Linked DNA regions of Homo sapiens: region 1 is linked to region 2. The links are contacts of gene promoters, found by promoter capture Hi-C in blood cells and fetal thymus (Javierre and others, 2016). All regions are on one chromosome and are shown on one strand. The core of a region is centred on a gene start or on the middle of the fragment in contact, and the rest is flanking DNA. Distances in the headings are between cores, read along the strand shown.

Evidence for each region. The method cuts DNA at HindIII sites, captures the fragments that hold promoters and counts their contacts. A CHiCAGO score of 5 or more calls a contact.
Region 1: a contact is called between a fragment that was not itself captured here and the fragment with the promoter of GSTM4 in region 2, in 11 of 17 cell types (M2 macrophages, endothelial precursors, megakaryocytes and 8 more). The highest score is 10.7, in M2 macrophages.

Annotation. Positions count from the first base shown.
Region 1 is chr1:109,767,522-109,770,986 of GRCh38, reverse strand. The region is part of intron 1 of LOC124904258 (a long non-coding RNA gene); the gene reads right to left. Among named protein-coding and RNA genes, the nearest start is that of EPS8L3, 5.3 kb to the right of the region's middle. RefSeq lists an enhancer at 453-1,408. The HindIII fragment of the contact is 5,200 bases long and covers 1-3,465 here.
Region 2 is chr1:109,654,849-109,657,348 of GRCh38, reverse strand. It overlaps GSTM4 (glutathione S-transferase mu 4), which reads right to left and starts at 1,250. Exons shown (of 8, transcript NM_000850.5): 1 at 924-1,250; 2 at 562-637; 3 at 70-134. The coding sequence starts at 959. RefSeq lists enhancers at 24-609, 1,483-1,532. The HindIII fragment of the contact is 5,301 bases long and covers 1-2,500 here.

The DNA.
Region 1 (3,465 bases), core at 956-3,455, 110 kb before region 2:
GAAGCCTCAGTGCCGCCAGCTCCTGGAAGGGGGCCCAGGGCATGGTCCTGCATGGTGATGGGACCGCCTCTCCCTGTCTCTCCCCACCTGCCGCATAGACTGAGCTGGACCCAACCAAGCCCCTCCCCTGAGATCCCCTAGGGCTTGCCTTTCCCGGAGGCTGCTCTTTCCTCAGCAGCCACCTCCCAGCCTGGCCCTGGATTCCTCTCCTCCTCTCCAGCCCAGCTCTCCTGAGAAGCCTGTTCTTAAGCCCAGTCCAAGGCTGGCCTCTGGAGAAGGGCTTTCCAGATGTCCCTGAGGTCCCTTCCTCCAGGGCTGTCAGGGCAGTGGGGCCAGGGTAATCCAGGCTCCTGGGACTGCCTACCTGGATGGGATGGGATGCAGAAGAGAGGGAAAGAAGGAGGGGGCATGTGTAGGAGTCACCCAGGGGATCCAGGGCTGGGAAGGTGCAGAACCAAGGCCCAGAATCGGGAACTGAGAAACATCTGGACCGACATCAGCTGCCAGGGCAATGAGGAAAAGGCAGGAGAATTCATAGCCCTGAGCACTGGCTTCAGATTTGGGGTTTAAACAAATGGAGGCACCGAGGAGAGCTAGGAAAATGGGGGCGGGTCTGAGATCCCAACCCCAGTCCATCCCCGGACAGAGCAGCTTCTGGAAGCACGTTAGGCCTGGCCTTCTTTCCTGAAAACTTAAGCCACTGGGCCTCTTGTAATTGTGGGGCTACAAATCACCCCCCTGCCTTCAAATCACGCACTCGCCCTTCGTCTGCCTTTATCGAGGAGGGCAGGCAGGTGGAGGGGTGGGCAGCATGGCAGAGTCTAGCCCAGGTGTGACCAGAGGCTCCAGAGACAAGCCCACCTTCTCCCCTGCCCTCCCACAGAAACCGCCCTCCTGCCATGCGCCCAGGATCTCTGTTGTCTCATCTGTCTCTGCAGTAGTGTGTTCCCACTAGCCATTATGCCAAGTCTTCCACCCTGAACACATCTGAACAAGTTTCTGGTATGTCATCCCTGGCCCACCATCCCATCCCCAGCAAAGCCTCCCATGCCCACTGTCTACACTCGGCGACTCACTCACAGCCCACCTCCTCACCCTCACACTCTTCAGCCGTCCCCAGCTGGCTCCAGCCCCCACTGCAAACCCACAGATGGTAGCCTTTCCTCCACCTCCCAGCAGCACCTGGCCCAGGTGTCCACCCCTCCTTCCTGAAACACTCTCTTCCCAGCTCTCCTTGCTGCTCACTGGCAGCCCCTTAGTCTCCCCTCATCCTTCCCAATCTCTTAATGTTGGAGCGCCTGGGTTGAGTCGTGAGCCCCCTTCTCTTTATCTATACACTTTCCCGCATGTGGTCTCGTGAGTCTTAGGTCTCTGAATGTTATTCGTGTATTTACAGCTGCCAAGTATCTACTGTCTTCTACACTGCAAACGTTCCCCGCATCATTGAATCATCTTTCTCCACATGCTTCTGAATGCCTGCATGTGGTCATCCTGCTCTGCTGAGCTTCTGACTCACACCTGCCCCTGCCTTCCTGCTACTTCCACCCAGAGGCCCAAAACACCTCTCAAACTGAGGCCATCCAGAATGGAACAGTAACTCTTCATATCCCCCTGCCTCCCAATCCCTCTTCTCTTCGGTTTCCCCATCTCACCAGATGTCACCATAACCCTCCCAGTTGTCCAAGCCAAAAACCTGAGTCCTAATAGGTCCTTTTTCCCCTCTCAACCCCCATTCTAATCCATAGCATGTCCCATCCGTTCCACCTGCAGCCTAAGTCTCCATCCTCACTGCCCTGCCATGTCCAGGCCTCACCACCCTCTCTGCAGCAGCTGCTTGTGGTCTCCCTGAGTCCGCCCCCACTCCCCCCACAGCCCATTCTCCCCACCCCAGCCAGAGTTGTGACTAGAACATAAATCCAATCATGCCACTCCTCCATTTAAAACCCCTCCGTGTCTTCCAACTGCCCTTGGAATAAAAACCAGGCTCCTGGCCATGGTCTACGGAGCCCTGTGTGCTCTGGCCCCTGTCCACCCCATTTCGGTCACCTCTCCGCCAGCTCGTTCCTTCTCAGCTGCAAGCCCTTCACATTGCTGGCCCCCTCTCCCAGGCTCCTTCCCATCCCTGGCTTAGCTTGAAGCTCCCCTCCTCAGAGAAGCCTTCTCCGACGTCGTGCTTCCAAACACCCTCCCACCCCCATGCCATCATCCACTTCACTCTATTTCTCTCTTGTCACTTGTCAGGACCTTGATTATCTTCAGATACATTTGTTTCTTCTACCTTGGCAGGTTAGTTGCGAGGGAGGGACATCATCTCTCTTGTTTATGTCTCCACCTGGCTCGTAGAAGCCACTTACCCCTGTGCCAGGGCTGGGGAAAGCAGGGGCAGGGATGGGAGCTGTCTCTGTGATTCCCCAGCAGCCCCAGGGCCAGGTGTCAGCCCCTGGACAGGACCACCATGACTCAGGGAATGCAAGGGCTGGCCCTTAAAGGACACACAGGAGTTCAGCCAAGGGGTGAAGTGGGCAGGGAATTGCAGGCAGAGGGATTGCAGTCCTACTGGATGAAGCGGCCTGGGAAGAAGAGTTGTCAATCAGCCCCTGATTGACATTGAGGCTGCCTCATCCATGCAGTCCACCAGCAAGAGGTGCTGGCTGGACCCTGCTCTGGGGTCTGGTTCTAAAGGTGAGGCGGCACCCATTCACCTCTGAATGCCAGGGCCCTGCCCTACCCCCTGCATGGTCATCCATGAACACAGAGCTCTTTTCCTCAGAGCCCTCCAGAGTTTCCCAGCTCTGACCAGGGCCTGCTCTGGAGCTTCCAAGGAACCCACCCTGCTTCTTGGCCCAGGCCAGGGTGGTGGGAGGGGCTCCTTGGCCCCTTAGCCTAAAGCCTGTGCACCTGGGTCTCTTTATATGCTGAGAACCAGCAAGCGGCAGCGTCTTCCACAAGACAGAAGACCCAGTAGCCTTCTTGTTGCATCTCCATGCAAAACCATTCAATGGCTCTACTCACCACCAGGTGATGACGGCACACATATGCTGTCATCTGCCACCACCTCCCCGCCACATACACATACACATGCACACACACGCGTGCACACACACAGTTCACGCCATACCCATCTTCTCCCCAGGCCGCTTCATCCAGTAGGACTGCAATCCCTCTGCCTGCAATTCCCTGCCCACTTCACCTCTTGGCTGAACTCCTGTGTGTCATTGAAGGGCCAGCCCTTGCATTTCCTCATCTGAGAAGTCCTCCCTGACACCCCCAAGCCGAGTAAGGTTCTTTATGCCTGCATACTACAGTGCTTTTGTTTACAAGCCCTTCTCTCCTCTAGACAGTGGCAGAAAACAATCTGGGTCCTCAGGGACCTGAAGGGGGCCTGCCCCTCCACACCTGTGGGTATTTCTCGTCAGGTAGGACGAGAGACTGAGAAAAGAAGACACAGAGACAAAGTATAGAGAA
Region 2 (2,500 bases), core at 1-2,500:
TGGGGAGAGGAGATGCAGTCAGAGACACGTCGCACTTTCCCCCAAAACCGCCCCTTCCCCTGCACCTACATTGGGAAAGTCCAGGCCCAGCTTGAATTTTTCATTCAGCCACTGGCTTCTGTCATAGTCAGGAGCTGCCGTGGGGAAGAAGAAGTGAAAACAAACCTCCCCAGAGCCCAGCCCTCCTTCCCGGGGACCCTCCCAAGGAACCAGTGGCAAGATCCCTGAGACAGGTGGATCTAGAATCTGACCACTCAGTCCCACATCCCAGGGTTCAGGGACAAAGAATCCCGCTGAGGGCTCTGGACCCCACACGGCTAAGGCTTCCAGGGTTTAGGGAAGCTCTGAGGGACACCCAACCCAATTAAACAGGGGGCCCAGCATCCCGCCCCAGCATTCTGCCTTGCAAGGCCACAGGACTCCCTCACCGGGGCTCAGGGAAGGGACAGCCTGCAGCTCCAGCAGGGGAGGCCTGCAGAGGTAGCCACAGGTGGCCACCATGGGTTGCTTGGTGCCAACTCAGCGTGAGTGGGCAGAGCCCGGACACAAGGGTGTCATTACCGTCCCCCATCGTATACTTCTTTTCCTCGTAGCTTGAGTCTGTGTATTCCAGGAGCAGGCGGATGGCGTGGGCCAGCTGGAAGAGATGGCCCGCAGGTCGTGTCAGAGATGGAGGGTCCCTGACTTGGTGACTTTCTCTGCACCAGGTGAGCCCCTAGTCTACACTGCACTGCACCCCCCCCCCACCCCGGCGCACGCACACACACACACACACACACACACACACACACACACACAGGCATGCACAGGCCCTCCTGTGAGAGATAGCCCTAAGGAGGGAACCGTCCCTAGAGCCGGTCCCCAGCCGCTCGGCACTTCCCGCCCACGCGCCCGGTCCCACAGTGCAGCGGACCCTCACTCACCCCGCGGATGTCCCAGTACCCCAGTGTCATGGACATGATGCTGGTTGGTGTCGATTCTGCAGACAGGCCTCAGCTGGGCTGAACTGCGACCTCCTCTGGGGTTCCCGGCACGCAGGGGCTGGACCTAGCGCCAGACCCGCCCCCTCGGCCCCGCTGCGCCCGCCGATCTTCAAGGTCGTCACTTCCAACCGGCCGATCTTCAAGGTCGTCACTTCCAACCAACAGGCGCGGGAGGCACGGAGCAGGTTGCTGGATCCTCACTGGCTGGAAGGAGTAAGATCCACCGCCACCTCCGAGTGTTCAGGGAGCAAGGTCCGGAAGCACTAGGAGGGGCTCGGCCTCGCCAGCTTCCGTAGCCCCGCCCCGCCCCGCTCCGCTTCGGACCTCTGCTGGGTCCCCAGGGACTCGGCTGTGCGCGTGAGAGTAAAGCCAGATCGTAAGAGAAAAGTTCTTCCCCCGTTTCTTCTTCTCCGGACGTCGCCCAGCCTTCTGCCTCTCGGCTGCCGAGTTCCCACAGGCTCTGGGAGACTGAGGCTGCCAGGGTCAGACTAAAGAGAGGTCTCAGAGAGTTTAATTCAACACTTCTTGGCTACTAAGTCTTAGAAGTCTGATGGTGTGCTCTCTCTGCTGAGTTGGGGAGCGTGAATGGAGGCTATGTCACCGAAGCTGATAGAGCTCAGTCTCTGTTGCAGATGCTCCCGACCCTTTTGCATTGGGCCAGTTCCCCAGCTCTGAGACTGGGTCCAGGCTCAGGAAGTGGCCTATGTGTCAAGGTGGATTCCCATGTAGGTTTGCCTACAGCAAGACGATAGCACCATGCACACACAAGTGCTTGGACTTCTGAATAGTTATACTTCTCATTATACATTAAGACATTAAGAATGTGTCATTCTGAGTCTTTTTTTTTTTTTTTTTTTTGGAACGGGGACTCGCTGTGTTGCCCAGGCTGGAGTGCAGTAGGGCGATCTCGGTTCATTGCAACCTCCGCCTCCCGGGCTCAAGCGATTCTCCTGCCTCAGCCTCCCGAGCAGCTGGGATTACAGACGAGCGCCACGACGCCCTGCTAACTTTTTTGTATTTTCTGTAGAGATGGGATTTCACCGTGTTGACCAGACTGGTCTTGAACTCCTGGTCTCAAGTGATCCACCCGCCTCCGCCTCCCAAAGTGCTGGGATTACAGGCATGAGCCACGGTGCCTGGCCTGTCATTCTGAGTTTATCCATCTTGAGCTGGGAAAGATAAAATGTCTAGGTCCAATTGTGAAGATGATTTTTTAAGAAAGCTAACACTTATGAGAATAATTATGAAAGAAACAGAATTGATATTGTTACATTAGTATTCACCCATTTGGTCATTCCTTTATTGAAACAACAGTTGTTGAGATCCTACCATATTCCAGGCACTGGGAATAAAACAATCCTTCAAAAACACTGTACTTTGGCCACCTACGACTAGAAGTCAGGTGGGAACTACAGGGGAGAGATTTTGAAAATACGGGACACTTCTTACTGTTTTTGCACACTGAGAGGCAGTGGAGTGGGAGAGGGGTTGAGTGTAGGAGAGAGAAGCGGTGCCTG